Regions from separate parts of the Homo sapiens genome. Here region 2 is linked to region 1. The links are contacts of gene promoters, found by promoter capture Hi-C in blood cells and fetal thymus (Javierre and others, 2016). All regions are on one chromosome and are shown on one strand. Each heading gives the region's core, a stretch centred on a gene start or on the middle of the fragment in contact. The rest is flanking DNA. Distances are from core to core; before and after follow the strand shown. Region 1 holds the start of SEC11C (SEC11 homolog C, signal peptidase complex subunit). Region 2 holds the start of FECH (ferrochelatase).

Region 1 (7,614 bases), core at 1,557-4,056:
TACAGTCTATGTTTTGACAAATATATAATGATATGTACTCATCATTATAGTATCATACTCTCCCCCCTACCCCCGGCAACCACTGATCATTTTACTGTCTCCATAGTCTTGCCTCTAGAGTTCACGGGAAGGAGTACTTCACTGGGGAAGAGGCCACCAGTGACAGAACAAATGAAGTGAACATTCTAGTTCTCTTAATTACTTATGTCCTGGATTAAGAAAAAAATATTAATAGTAGCCATAATTCCTCCTACTGGTTCTGAGAGTCTATTTTGAGTCAGATGGGAGGTTTTTTTTGCATATTATTAATACCTCACTTGACTCTCACAACATCTCTTGCCTTTTTCAGTATGCCATGTAGTTGGGATCATACAGTATGTTGCCATTTCAGATAGACTTCTTTCACTTAGTAATATGCAGTTAAGCTTCCCTCCTGTCTTTTCATGGCTTGATATTACATTTCTTTTTTGCACTGAATAGCATTTTATTGTCTGGATATCCTGCAGTTTATTTATCCATTCACCCACTAAAGGACATCTTGGTTGCTTCCAAGTGTTGACAATTATGAATAAAGATGCTAAAAACATCCGTGTACGGGTTTTTGTGTGGACATCCGTTTTCAAGCTGGTATTTGGGTAAATACCAAGGAGTGCAATTGCTGCATCATATGGTGAGAGGATGCTTAGTTTTGGAAGAAATTGCCAAACTGTCTTCCAAAGTGGCTGTAACAAATACGGTTTTTATTTGGTGGATGAGCAAAGGGTTCATGGAGGTGAATAAATTAGTCTAAGACTGGACAATATGCAGGGACTTCTACCCAATGTCTTCCTGTGTTGCTTCTCACCCAATGCTCAACCTAAGCAGGAGCCTGGAGGCTGGGCCAAAGGTTCTGATGTGAAGATATCACACTGGGTTCTAGGTTTATTGGTCACATTTTGGACCCTTACTCTATTCCCACAAACCTGTTCCACCCACAGCTTTCCTCATTGAAGTTGAGGGGAACTCTACCCTTCTAGTTCCATAGGTTAAAAACCCTGGAGTCAGCCTCAATCTCTTTTCTTCTTTCACGCCCTATATTTATTCTTTCAAAAAATCCTGAAGACTCTTTCTTCAAAATGTATCCAGATTCTGAACCTTTAGTGCTGCCACCTTAGTTCCAGCAATTATTAGTGGCAGGGTTAACTATCACCATATCTTCCTATGTACTAAGCACTGTGTCTTGCACTTATAATTTTATACATCTGATATTTGGAAGAATTTTACACAGACTAGCTTCTGGATCTGTACATTTCAAACCTTGTTTTTCCTCTCCATCCACTTATTTCCAAGGTCAAGTGCTGCAGAACACTTTCATATCAGATGCCACTTCCAGTGGGACTTCCTGCCACGGTGCCAGGTGAGTTGGCCCAGTGGATGGCAGTATTCCCAGAAGCCATTTTTTACACGAGGATGGCAGGAAAGACCATGAACCACATAAATAAATTCACTAAACTCAAACCAAATGTATCTCCAACTCGTTTCCTCCTTAGCTGGATCCCCAAAATTCTCCTTGTCCCTCCAACAGGAGGGGAAATGTAATGGAGGTGAAGTTGGAATGCAAAGAAACAGAACTCTTAACCAATAGCAATTGCAATATCTTGCTTTTGAAAGTTTTACACATTCTATGGTTAAGTTTCTCCCACACCTTGGAAAAACACCTTTGCAATTGAAGGGTCCCAGAACTTACCTTTCATTAGCTTCATGGTAAGTCAGCTTCTGGTATATTTTAAATTGCAACCTGATCCTTTCCCCCAGACCTCCCCATTCAACTTATCTGCTTTTCCTGTTGTCATAGCACCTCCATCCTTTAGGTACCGTATAAATTATCCATTATGTCTGCCTTCGGTAGAATATAAGCTTCATGAGGGCAAGAATCTTTGCTTGTTTTGTTAACTGATGTTTCTCAAGTGCCTAGAACAAGGCCAGGTGCATGGTAGGTGCTCCATAAAGATTTGTGGATAAATAAATACAATAAAGAATGCATAATGCATACACGAGTGAGTGAATGAACCAAAGGTAATCTAGGATCAGAACTGTGATGATCTAGGACTTCTAAATTTAAAACTTTGAGTTATATTCCACTCATTTCCACTTAACCTTGGCCATGTCAATGAACCTTTCTGGGCCTTTGCTTTCTCGTGTATGAAATTAGGTGGTTATGTATTCATTTAATTAATATCTATTGCAACCCAATTATGGTCAAGGCATTCAAAGATACTTCCTTGCATACAAGTGGTACCACTCAAAATGCAGAATTCAGCGGCCTCAAAAGTCCCGCCTCTTCCAAGCCCCGCCCACCGCAGTCCATCTTTAGGCCCCGCCCCAATTCGGCTCAGCCCGCCCCAGCGTAGAGGCACCACCTTTCCTCGCTGCAGTCATCCAATAGCCAAGATACACGGCTAGGTGATTTGCGAGCGGGAGTTAGGTGTCCTCTTGGCGCCTGACCAGAGTCGGGAAATTCAGCTCCTCTTGAGTAGTCCCTTCCCCGAGTTGCCCCCCGAGGTATGCGGGGTCACTCGCTGCTCGATGTTCCCTCCGAAGGGTCGGACAAGGCTCCGGAGCCCTGTAGCTGCCCTCCCTAGGAGCCCCGGGTCTTCACTGGCCGAGGTGCCCACCCCGCAGCATTCTGGGAGTGGTAGTTTTCTTCCTTCAGGTTCATTCCTGGCTGGCCAGTGCCCAAGACTGGCGAGACTACGATTCCCAGACGCCCAAGCGAGTCGCCGGTCACGTGGCCGCAAGGACGCTGGGCCGGTGGGCGGGGGCCGGCAGGTGCTCCGCAGCCGTCTGTGCCACCCAGAGCCGGCGGGCCGCTAGGTCCCCGGAGACCCTGCTATGGTGCGTGCGGGCGCCGTGGGGGCTCATCTCCCCGCGTCCGGCTTGGATATCTTCGGGGACCTGAAGAAGATGAACAAGCGCCAGGTGACGGAGGAGGGTGGTGAGCGCGCCGTGGCCGGGACCGCCTGTGCTAGCGGGGAGTCGGGGCTTCCCAGTCAGGGCTCCGGCTCCCAGTGAATGCGGCCGGGCGGCCACCCGAAGCTCCCGCGCTGGGCTCTCAGGCCCTGGGTTCTACGCCTACGTGTGGGCATGGGTGTGCACTTCCTTGCCCTGACAAGAGCACAATTAGGGGAGGGTGCAGGAAAGGGGAGAATAGAAACCCCGTGCCATGGAATGTCAAATGTGGTTGAGAATGCCACAGCCACGCTTGTGGGAGAGATGACTCGGTGAACGACAGCTCTCTGAGCGTATTTGAAGGGCCACCCGGTGAAGAGGGAACCGATTTCTCTGTGGGGCTTCAGAGGCCTGACTGCCGGCAGGTGGAAGAGGCAGAAAGGCAGGCGAGAGGGAAGAACTTTCCTACAACGGGAGCTGTCCAGCGATGCCTCCCAAAGCAGTTTCTTCCCAGCCTGGGCAGTTGTTTTTCCCCTGACCGTGGGTCGGGACTAAATAATGCTCCTTGTGCCTAGAGAGCTCACAAGCTGTGCGCAATCATTGTGGACTCAACCAGTGTTCCCAGCGAGATTCCAGAAGCCTTCTCTAACTTCTGAGATGGCTGCACTCTGAATATAGGAGGCAGTGTAGGGTCTTTGGGCAGCTGGGGTGGTTGAATTCCCTCTCCTTTGTGAGAGGACCTCAGAGGAAAACGTTCCTCTTGCTCTCTTTTTAGCCACTTATTGGCCATCATCACTGTCTTTGGGGCCTTATCTCTTCACTATAAGGTTAAGAGTGAGTAGGGATTGGAAAGGAAGCCCTCTCAGTCAGGAAAAATACGACTATGTAGGCTTCTAGGTAGAGAATTTGGGGGACCTGTAGGACCTGAATATCACGGTGGATACTAATGCCACTATTGCTACTAATAAATTGTGCTAAGAAAAATGGGACCTTCCAACCAGGGAGTTTTGATTGTCTTTGAAAATGGTATTAATCCTCATTATTTTGATGGCATCCAGTTTCATTTGCTCCATCATGTTGAGATGTGGGGTGGTGCCCATGGGAGGTCACAGCTTACTCCTTTAGGCATACGTGTTTTTCCCCTCTCACTCTCCTCCCCCTTCCCCAAGTAGAATTTCAGACTAGTGCAGTAGTGTGGGAAAGTTTGATAATTTCTATTTCATCAACCGTGTTTAGGATGTGGTAGTGTCTAGGTGTGCAAAGCTGATGACTCCTGTTTCTGGAAGATGAGTTGTAGTAGAGATTATCACCAGCTTAAAAAAGTAACTGCTAATGTCCTGAGCATTGATGCTGTTCACAAGAATATCCTCCAGGAAGCAGAGCTTTGTTTAAAAATCTAGACTTAATGGCTGGGTTTTTAAAGTGTCTCTAAAATTGGTACTGATTACTGATGGCTATAATTGCAGACTGTCAGAAAAGGCCCTCTGATGAGTGTATTGATCCCTAAACCAGTTTGCCCTTTGAAAGATCAGTGTGTTTTTGCTCTCAGCGATAAGGCCTGCCAGTAGCTGGCTGTATTGCCTGTTTTGCTAGTCTTCTAATTAAAATTCAGCAAGCTCAAATCTACTGCTTCTTGGTACTTTTTAAAAAAGCTTTGTCTTTTTTTTTTTTTCTCTTCTTCCCTCCAAAATAGCATCTTATGACACTTTGTCAGGCCTGCATGCTCCACCAGTCTTGAAAGCAGGACCTTCTTTCTCTGCTGCCCCTGCTTACTATTAAAGCAGGACCCACATGCAACACAAGGGCTCTTTGTTTCTGCAGTGAGGAAGAGAGGAAGAAATACAGCTACTGGCAGTGCTGCTGCTGTCAGCCAGAATATTTGATCTGAAATGTTTGCTTAAAACTCTTAGACATTGGCTGTTTCATCATTGGTTGACAATGACTGAGTATGGACTTAGTTCTACACTCTGCTGTGAGCATTAAGTGCTGAGCATACAAAGTTGGTAGGCAAAGGTGAACAACAACAAAAGCACCTGTGAAACATGGTGGTGGTTTTTTTTTTCCAGACCGCAGTCAGCTTGTCAGTAGTTCAATCAAAATTACTTTTCTGGATTCCAGGATTTTATGCCTAGAATCTGATTCGTAGGTTTCTTAAAGTTAAGGTGTTAAAAGTGTGATCTGTGGTTTCTTAGTTTGATTTTTATATTTTTGTGTATTTGGACATTTCCTTAGCAGGTAGATGGCTTGCTCAAAGGAAGTTTTTTTGAGGAATTGATTTTGCTTTCCCTTAATGAACTTTTCAAGCATGGGAAATTATACTGGAAAATATATTCTTGGTACAAGTTCTTTACTGGCTAAGTGGCAAGATTTTATCGGGGTGGAGCCAGATGACTTGAAAACTTGTCTGAAAACGGCAATCGTTGTTTAAAACCATGGTTTGGGGCTTTCCTCATCAGATCTGTAATTCATAATGAAACAGCGGTTATTTATCAAATCCTTTAAGTCAGGCAGAGCCGGTGGGGAGGTTTTTGAATGTAAATTCCAGTGAACAGCTTCTGCTTTAGAGTGACGTGACTTGTAAGGCTGATTTTACTTTAGAAGCAGTGTTTTGTTGTTGTTGTTGGAATCTCAATATTTATTGAATGAAGACATGAATGTTTTATCTCTTCTAACGGCTCACTTCTTTGCATTCTTAAGTATTTGCTTTGTGATCTTTGATTTTTTCCGTTATGCTCTTTGAGCTTATGGTGAAATGGTGTAAAGGCTTTGATTGTTTCATGGCAACTTTCTGGTAAATATTCTTCATTTGATGAGGGATAAAAGACTACATATTGGGTACAGTGTACACTGCTCCGGTGACAGCTGCACTAAAATCTTAGAAATCACCACTAAAGAACTTAATCCATGGAACCAGAAGAAGCAATGGTTTAACATATTATAGCCCAACACTTTGTCAATGTCTGCTTAGCACTCCAGTTTCCTTTTTCACTCTCCTGGGAATATAGTGATAGTTTCATAATTTGCTATTGACACAGTAGCCAAGTCGCTTTTAAAAATGGTGTGTAGGCTGAGTGCAGTGGCTCACGCTTGTAATCCTAGCACTTTGGGAGGCCGAGGCGGGCAGATCATTTGAGGTCAGGAGTTCAAAACCAGCCTGGCCAACATGGTGAAGCCCCGTCTCTACTAAAAATATAAAAATTAGCCGGGTGTGGTGGTGCACACCTGTTATCCCAGCTACTCGGCAGGCTGAGGCAGGAGAATCACTTGAGCCAAGGAGGCGGAGGTTGTAGTGAGCAGAGATCGCGCCATTGCACTCCAGTTTGGGCAACAGAGTGAGACTCCATTTCAAAAAAAAAAAAAAAAAAAAAAAGTGTGTAACTTTAATGTTGAATTATATTTATTTTCCTATTTTGATTTATTGCACCAAAATACATTAACAATTATCTTAATTCATTTATGTCCTCACTTTCAGTTGTATCCTTCATTATTGCCTCAAATTACCTATTTTTACAGTTTTAACATTAGCAAGAGACAGTTCTGAGCTCTGCTTTTCCTACATCAGTCAGAGTTTGTTTTCAGAATAGAGAATAGTTTAAAGAAGAAAAGTCAATGACTCATAATTTCACTATCCTAAAATAGCCTCTCTTAGCGTCTTGGGGCATCTCTTTGTATTTGTTTTATCGTTTGGTGAGATCCTACTGCAGCTTACATTTTTCACTCAACATACTGTGTTTGGTCATGTCATTAAAGTTCCTTTTTATTTTCCTCCCCCAACCCAACCCGCTTTCTCCTCCACTCCCATTAAGTTCTTTATGCATTGTTTTAAATAGTGGAGTAATCTGCCATTTTCTTTTTTTTTTTTTTGAGATGGAGTCTTGCTCTGTCACCCAGGCTGGAGTGCAGTGGTGCAATCTCGGCTCATTGCAACCTCCGCCTCCCGGGTTCAAGCGATTCTTGTGCCTCAGCCTCCCGAGTAGCTGGGATTACAGGCACATGCACCACCATGCCTGGCTAATTTTTGCATCTTTAGTAGAGATCGGGTTTCACCATGTTGGCCAGGCTGGTCTTGAACTCCTGAGCTCAGGTTATCCGCCCACCTCGGCCTCTCAAAGTGCTGGGATTACAGGCATGAGCCACACTGCACCTGGCCCCACTTTCTACTCAGTTATTTCCATATTGTTGCTCATTTATTTCCTTTTCCACATTATTAGAATTAAGACTGTAATAAATGTCTTCGGGCCATAATTCTCAACCTGCCTTTAGTTTATACTGAATTCCTAGAAGTAGGATTATGGGCCAAGAGTAACCTCTTAATACTAATGCCAAATAGCTTTCAGAATGGTTTATCAATTTGTATCCCCATCACAGTGTATTCTTGCTAGCACTAAGTATTAGTATTAACAACAACAATAAAAAAACCAGACACTTTAAATTTCTTAGGCAAAGGCTAGGTGTGGTGGCTTACGCCTATAGTCCCAGCACTTTGGGAGGATTGCTTGAGGCTAGTATGTTCAAGACCAGCCTGAGCAACATAAAAAGACCCCATTTCTACCAAAGAAAAAAATTTAGAACTACCCAGGCATGCCAGCACATGCCTGTAGTCCAGCCACTTGGGAGGCTGAGGTGGGAGGATCCATTGAGCCCAGGAGTTTGAGGCTGTGGTGAGCTATGGTTGCACCACTGCAC
Region 2 (7,614 bases), core at 2,386-4,885, 1.6 Mb before region 1:
ATTCTCAGAGAGGAGAATGATGTCGCTGCCAAGGGACCCTTTCCACTCAGGTTCGTTAATACACTCACCCTTCAAGGACTCATCCAAAACACTCCTCTCCCCTAATGATCTGAAGATTCTAGAAAAATGAAAAGCGTCTCCTACCAAACAATTAGCATTCGTCCAGGCTAAAGGAGTTTAAAGTAAACATTCAAAGGGCCAACTGAGACTCTGGAAAAGACTCAGCTCACAGCTGAAGAGAATCTGATGGCACGGGCAGCATTGCGTGGCGTAGAGAGTACGTGTTCGGAAACCAGAGAGATCTGAGCAGAAATCCCACACGGGACCAAGAGGCTGTATGGCTGGGCCTGGGCCACTCACTGAGATGCTGCGAGTCTCACTTTTCTCATCTGCAAAATAGTGATAAGGCTACTTCTGCAGGGCTGCTGTGAAGATAAGAGGGGAAAAATATGTCCAGCCCCAAGAGCAATGCCTTGCACACTGCATGTGGCTGAGCAAAGGGGTGAAGAATATCCAATAGTATAGACTTGCCCATTTATGAACTAAGACCAAGTAATTCTGCCCCTCCTCCTTACATGGATAACTGATCTACCTTTAGAAGGCCTACAAACAGGCCGGGCATGGGGGCTCACGCCTGTAATTCCAGCACTTTGGGAGGCCGAGGCGGGAGAACTGCTTGGGCCCAGGAGTTTGAGACTAGCCTAGGCCATGTGGAGAGACCCTATCTCTATTTTGTTTAATTAAAAAGAAAAAAAGAAGGCCTACAAACAATAAAAATGATCAAACCGACAGATAAGCAGCAAAACAGAAGATGACATAAGAAAACGAAACTTCACCGGGCACAGTGGCTCATGCCTGTAATCCTAGCACTTTGGGAGGCCGAGGCGGGCAGATCACAGGTCAGGAGATAGAGATCATCCTGGCTAACACAGTGAAACCCATCTCTACTAAAAACACAAAAAAATTAGCCGGGTGTGGTGGCACCTGCCTGTAGTCCCAGCTACTTGGGAGGCTGAGGCAGGATAATCCCTTGAACCTGGGAGGCGGAGGTTGCAGTGAGCCGAGATCATGCCACTGCACTCCAGCCTGTCGACAGAGCGAGACTCCGTCTCAAAAAAAAAAAAAAAAGAAAACAAAACTTCATAACTCCTGCAGTGGTGGACACCTGTAGTCCCAACTACTTGGAAGACTGAGGCAGGAGGCTCACTTGAGCTCAGGAGTTCAAGACCAGCCTAGGCAACAGAGTGAGACTCGGTCTCAAAAAAAAAAAAAAAAAAAACTCTCAAAAAACAAACTTCATAATTCCTGGACAAATCCAATAGGTGATCATTCAGAAGTATACCTATGACTTAAGAAGTTCCTAAGTTATGACTTCATGTTGTTGCAAAAAGAAATAAAGAAAAAGGAAAAACAGAAAAAAAAGTTCTTAAGTATCAACTGGTTCTTCAAAACCAAATTAATATTTTGGATCCTTGTGGGCGAGGCAGAAGAGGGTGGGGGGCGAGATACACAAGTATTGAAATCTATAATGGCACTTTTCTATCACATAGGAGATGAGGATTACTTCAAAAGTACTTATAAAATATGCACCGTTTTTAAAATTAACAAAAGAAATAAGGTTCTATATTATAACTATTAATAAACATAGTGGGTGCTTCAAAATATTGGTTAGTTGCTGATATGGAGCCAAAATGTTCTAATGTCTCTTATGTAAACCCTACAACTCTTTTATTATCCTAGAATTGTTTTTCTAATTACATAAGACAATATATGCTCAGTGAAAAAAAATGTTTGGGGGGCCAGGCACACTAGATCATGCCTGTAATCCCAGCTACCAGGGAGGCTGAGGCGGGAGGATCACTTGATCCCAGGATTTCAAGGCTGCAGTGAACTATGATGGCACCACCGTACACCAGCCTGAGCGACAGAGCAACACTCCATCTCTTAAAAAAACAAAAGAAACAAAACGTTTAAAGTTTGGAAAGAAAAAGGCACCAAGAAAAAAAATAATTCATATAGATAGCTAAACAGACAGATAATATATGGCCCACCCCCGGAAGCTTCTTATTAATTCTGTAATATGCTAAATACATAAAGTATAAAACTTTGCTTTTCCACTTTTACTTTCAGAACTCATTTTCGGAAATAATCCTCAGTGTTTTCTCACACAGAAGTTGATCTTTTCCTATCAACCAAAATGATGAAGTATTATAACTATGCCTTCAAATCAAAGTCTGTAACACAAATAAGACTCCAAATCTACTTCTGCTAGCGTTTCTGAATCTTTCCACTTTTAACCTAGACTACAAATAATTTAAAGTTTCACATATTGTTCCACGACCTCAAATCTAGGACCTGTCAGACTTTATTTGCCACAGGAAAGGTCAGTGAAAGAAAAGATTAGTTCAATACTTCTTTCAGCCCCACGACTGGCACTGTGCTGCCTCTTCTTAAAAAACAATGCCCTTTGTCCCCCAGCGCCCTTAGTGAGCTAGCCTCATTGTACACTGGGTCCTTAGTATTTTCCTAACAAAGGCACGTCTAATGAGATATGGAGGTTCAGAGGGGATTCCCTCCACTCCAAGTAGGTGTCAGACTGACGAACGTCTTAGAAAAATATGTCCGGTCTGTGTCCAGTCACCGTTCGGATGCATTGAATAAGCATCTTATTCGTGGCAGCCTTCTGCATGAATGGCTAGACATCTTGAGGATGCCTGTGTACTACTGTGTGCCAGGCAAGGTGCTCATGTTCAAGGCAAGCCTTAAAAAAAAAATTAGGATTTCAATGTACATTTACCAAAGCTCTGGCGAGGTTAGGTGCCTTGTTCAAGGTGTCACAGTTGGAAATGCTGTCCCAGCCAGGTGTGTGAGATCCACAGTCCCATCAGCTCATCCTGTGGTCACAACCTATTCACGGTTTGCATCAGAAACGTGGGAGGCTGTTCCTGGGTCTTACAAGTTCCCCAGATATCTCTAGAAAACGCTAGCCCAGGCTGCCCCACGGGGGGTCCCGCTGCTAAGGAGAAGTGGGCACAGAGGGACCAAGGACCATGGGCTTTCCTCAGCAGGGAGGGAACTGCAGGGCAGATGTCCATGGTGGTGATGATGAAGATGCCTTCCTTACTATCCTCTATGGCAGGCCCATAACATACCTTCCCTCGCGTAATCTTCTCAACAGCCTGGTTATTGCAGGTGACAATAACCAAGGCTCTGGGAAATTCCAGCCACTGCTCCAAGCCACCCAGCCGACCGATGGGACTTGAACCTGCGCCTCCTGGATCCGGGCGCCCTCCCCGCGGCCTCCCGAGCCCTGAGTGCTGCCCTCAGCCCTCCCTTCTCCGCGACGCCCCTCGCCCGGTTGCTCGCAGCACCCCCAAGGCCGCTCCCCGAATCCCCCGGGCGCGAGGGCCCGGGCGCCAGCTGCCCGCTCTGCCCACGCCTTCTCAGGGATCCTGGCCCTGGCGGCCGCCGCGACAGACCCACTTACGCGGATCGCGGAGCAGGACGCCCGCGGCGCGCAGGGCCGCAGCCATGTTTGCGCCGAGTGAACGCATTGCCTGGGCAGCCTCGGCCCGAGTCCGGGCTCCTCCCGCGGCGGCGCGCCCAGGTGTCCGCCCAGCAGTGGCCGAGCCGGGTAGCGATCCCCACGCGCGTCCCCAGCCCCCTGACCTCGCGCCCTCCCGGCGCGCCCGCTCATTCGCTGCCGGGCCGGGGCGGGCGAGGCCAGGCAGAGACACGCCCCTCGCGGAGAGCCCGCCCCAGCTGGGCGCCGCTCCCTGCGTGAAAATGGGCCCGGGGGCTGAGCTAGAAGCCCGCTCCCCACCACCATCGCAGGTCACTGCAAAACCTGCTGGACTCCTAGTTGCGTGCCCTGTTTGCATCTGCCAAACTAGCGAAGTCAGGATCCTCAGCCATGACTCAGCAAATAACTTTTTTCGACGTTTCCATTACTATTATTTAGATATAAGGATGCTTTTGCCTCAGTTCTCCAGTTTGCCTGCCTAGTCACAACACAAGTGTGCAGATCCTGTTTTGTTTTGCTTTATTTTCAGAATAGAAAAAGGGATTATTCAGTTTCTCTGCACCCTCTCTGTGTAGCAGAATTTGACAGGTGAAACTCACTGAAGAGCATTAGGAAAAGTGAAGGCCAGCCTGGCAAGTGCATTTCTTGGAGGGACGGTATGATGAGGTTTGTCTGTATCATATCCGCGCACCTTCCCAGTTTAGCCGCCCGTCCCGCCCCCAAGGTCGCACACTGAGATCACTGGGAGGAACAGGCGCCCATTTCATTCCTACACCTCCGTCAGCCCACCCTGCCTATATATGTTCAGTGCATTGTGGAGTAGGAAACCAGCCCTTGGTACAGAAAGGTCTCAGGCATCGGTATTCATTGAACAAATATTGAGCACCTACTATGTGCACTGGGAAAACAGTAGTGAAAAGAGTAGACGGGGGCTTACATGGGGTTAGGGGAGACACAGAAAATAATCACAACATGTAATACTTTGAATGATGGAGCCCTTCCACGGCCTCCCCTCTTCTTTTTCCCTCTCAGGACAAAAGAAGAATGAAGCAAGGTAAAAGAGATGGGGTAGGGTGGGGGAAGGGACTAATGCAATTTGAAGCAGGTGGGTCAGAGTCTCACACATTCGAGCAAAGGCCTTATACACATTTGAGCAAAGGGGGCAAGCCATATGGAACATTCAGGGAAGATGGAGTCTAGATTCAGCTGAAACCCAGTTTTCTGTAGCTTAAATATGTGCTACTGATGGAATTAGTTTATTTCTTATTAAAGTTGGTCCTCCTGATGGTTATAAGCCCAATGCAAAATGTCAAATTAAATGGATAGCCTTTCATATTACCTACATGATCTTCATATCCAAGCGGATGTCCTGAGAAAAGCACAGTAAAACCTGCTCCAGGTATCAACCCACCTTCCTTATATGTGTGGCTATTCTCTACCCTCATAAAAAAATTATAGTCTTCTTAAGTTGCCCTGTAAAGAGGTGATCTTCATGGATAACATACTTCTCTACCTACAGTCTGAACCCATTTTTGTTGTTGTTGTTGTTATTTGTTTGTTTTGTATTTCCAGTAGATACAGAGTTTTGCCATGTTGGCCAGACTGGTCTCGAACTTCTGACCTCAAGTGGTCCACCCACCTCGGCCTCCCAAAGTGCTGGGATTACAGGCGTGAGTCACCATGCGCGGCCTGAGCCCATTTCTTCTAAAGAAACTAAATTGAAAGGCTGCACACCTCGCAATGCTGTGCTGGCAGACATGTAGACAAGGCCAGAGAATAAAATGGCCGGGGGGGTTAGACGTCTGAGCTATGAAGGCTCTTCTTGTCCCCTCTGGGAGGCCCTGGAGAAAGTCATCCCCTCCATCCAGGGTGCTGGGCCCTCCTGCTGGGTAGAGATAAGGGGGCTTCTGGTCCCTCCCAGGCAAACGCTGATGATTAGTGACAAGGCATAAAGGTGCCAAGTCTCACCAGTACAAAATCAATGGCTGGCGTGGGTTAAATTTCTGTCCAGAAATGATTATGGAACTAGCAAGACATACTTTATTAAATATTTTAATGAATCAGCATCATTTCATTTCTTTTATTCGCATCTTGCACTTTCATTTTTACTGACTTCTTTTTTTATTTTTTATTTTTTCATTAATTAATTAATTTTTTTTGTTTTTTTTTTTTTTAGAGGGAGTCTCACCCTGTTGCCCAGGCTGGAGTGCAATGGCACGATCTCGGCTCACTGCAACCTCCGCCTACTGGGTTCAAGTGATTCTCCTGCCTCAGTCTCCCGAGTAGCTGGGATTACAGGTGCTTTACTGACTTTTAAAAACTCATTCAAAATTCCTCATGTATAAAACCTCCTGGTGCACATATTAAGAACTCATGGGTTATAACTGAAAACAGAACTTCATTCTTTTTCCCCAACAGAGAGTACCATAACAATTGTTATTCCTAATCTATGGCTTATTTCTTACAAACATTGAATATAACAGCTTTCCAATGAGTAAATTTTTATGTTCTTATGCAGTGAAAGCAGATAAAATGTGCTTTATGTTGGTCCTTTTCAAAACTGGTAGAAAACACAGTCCTTAATCCAGAAATTGTGAACTCTAAATACAGGCTTACCAGAAAAGCCCTTGAAAGGCTAAAGAAATTTGCGGAACCATATGATATACATAATATGAATTTTTTCTGACTTAACATATTTTTAACAAAATGACACACCAATTCCATTAGCAAACAGAAGGCTAAAAAGGCACAGTGTGTGGGCTAACGGAGATAAGGAGCACCCCAACCAGGAGGGAGAGGGTTTGTCTGGGGCCTGGTGAGTTCATTAGTGAATAAAGCACTCACCTGTCACAGACACCACTCTGAGTGCAGCCTGTGATCCTAAATAAAATGAATTTGTTGGTTTCAGCTCAGTGCTTCAGGGAAAGGGGTGGGAAATCTCTTCATTCATTATTTGCCATGATTGGCACCTCTGAGCTACACAAACTAAATTTAGATTATTCAACTCTGATTCCTTAATCAGAAAAATAACTGGGGAAGGGAGGAATCAGGAGGCATTCAGGGCAAGAGAAACAGTGGCTGCATGTAACAAATGGTAAGCTATAATGATTACTCAGAGAAATCTGATCAATTGTCCCTAGAATCATTTTACAACAAAGAGGCCACCAAATCCAGGCCAACATGCCATGCGTTTTGACTTGCCCCTCTTCACCACGCAGAGCCTTCAGCCCAATGGTGGTGACGGGTTTATTAATCCATCTGCCCATATTTCCTGACCATCTACCATGAGCAAAACATTAGGTCATGTAGAGGATAAAAGAGTGAAAAGGAAAACAAACAACATTCTCAAACAGCTCATTCGCTTATGAAACAAGCGTATGGGAGACTCCAGTCTATGTCAGGCACATGGCAGGCACTGGGTGTGCAGCAATGAACCGGACAGTCCCTAATTTCACGGAACGTACCTTCTAGAAGGCAAGGCAGACAATCGTTTTACAACAAAGATGAAAGACATACAACATATTGTCAGGTATGGCTAGGGACCAGAAGAAAGCTAAAGGAGGTGGAGGAAGGGAGAGAGGCCGCAACTGCCCAGGTCAGTAGTGCAGTCAGGACCAGCCTCTCTGCAAAGGTGGCATTTCAGCAGTGACCTGAAGGGAGTGAGGGCGTTGTCCGGGGAAGGGCTTGCAAGCAGAGAGGCCAGCAAGCGCTGGAACACATTTGAGGCTTGTATTCATTTCCTAGGGCTGCTGGAACAAAATACCACAAACCAGGCAGGCAAATGTGTTGTCGTCCAGTTTTGAAGGCTAGAAATGCAAAATCAGGGTGTCAGCAGGGCTGTGCTCCCTCTGAAACCTGTAAGGGAGAATCCTTCCTTGCCTTTTTTAGCTCATGGCGGTGGCAACAATCCTTGGCGTTCCTCAGCTTGTAGATGCAGCACTCCATCCTCTGCCTCCACAGTCACAGCCTGTCTTCTCCTCTTGGAAGGACGCCAGTCATTTTGGATTAAAGGCCTACTCTAATAACCTCATCTTAACCTGACTGCGTCTGCAAAGACCCTGTTTCCAAATAAGTTCATGTTTACAGGTACC

The links. The method cuts DNA at HindIII sites, captures the fragments that hold promoters and counts their contacts. A CHiCAGO score of 5 or more calls a contact.
Region 2: the fragment with the promoter of FECH here is called in contact with the fragment with the promoter of SEC11C in region 1 in 2 of 17 cell types (non-activated CD4 T cells and naive CD8 T cells); the score reaches 5.9 in non-activated CD4 T cells.

The regions. Positions count from the first base shown.
Region 1 is chr18:59,137,078-59,144,691 of GRCh38, forward strand. It overlaps SEC11C (SEC11 homolog C, signal peptidase complex subunit), which reads left to right and starts at 2,807. Exons shown (of 6, transcript NM_033280.4): 1 at 2,807-2,958. The coding sequence starts at 2,872. RefSeq lists silencers at 2,237-2,286, 2,707-2,846 and enhancers at 2,397-2,486, 2,567-2,666, 4,582-4,631, 5,450-5,549, 7,466-7,515. The HindIII fragment of the contact is 2,684 bases long and covers 1,895-4,578 here.
Region 2 is chr18:57,583,067-57,590,680 of GRCh38, forward strand. It overlaps FECH (ferrochelatase), which reads right to left and starts at 3,636. Exons shown (of 11, transcript NM_000140.5): 1 at 3,488-3,636. The coding sequence starts at 3,554. RefSeq lists silencers at 3,328-3,377, 3,388-3,447, 3,458-3,817. The HindIII fragment of the contact is 11,690 bases long and covers 2,059-7,614 here.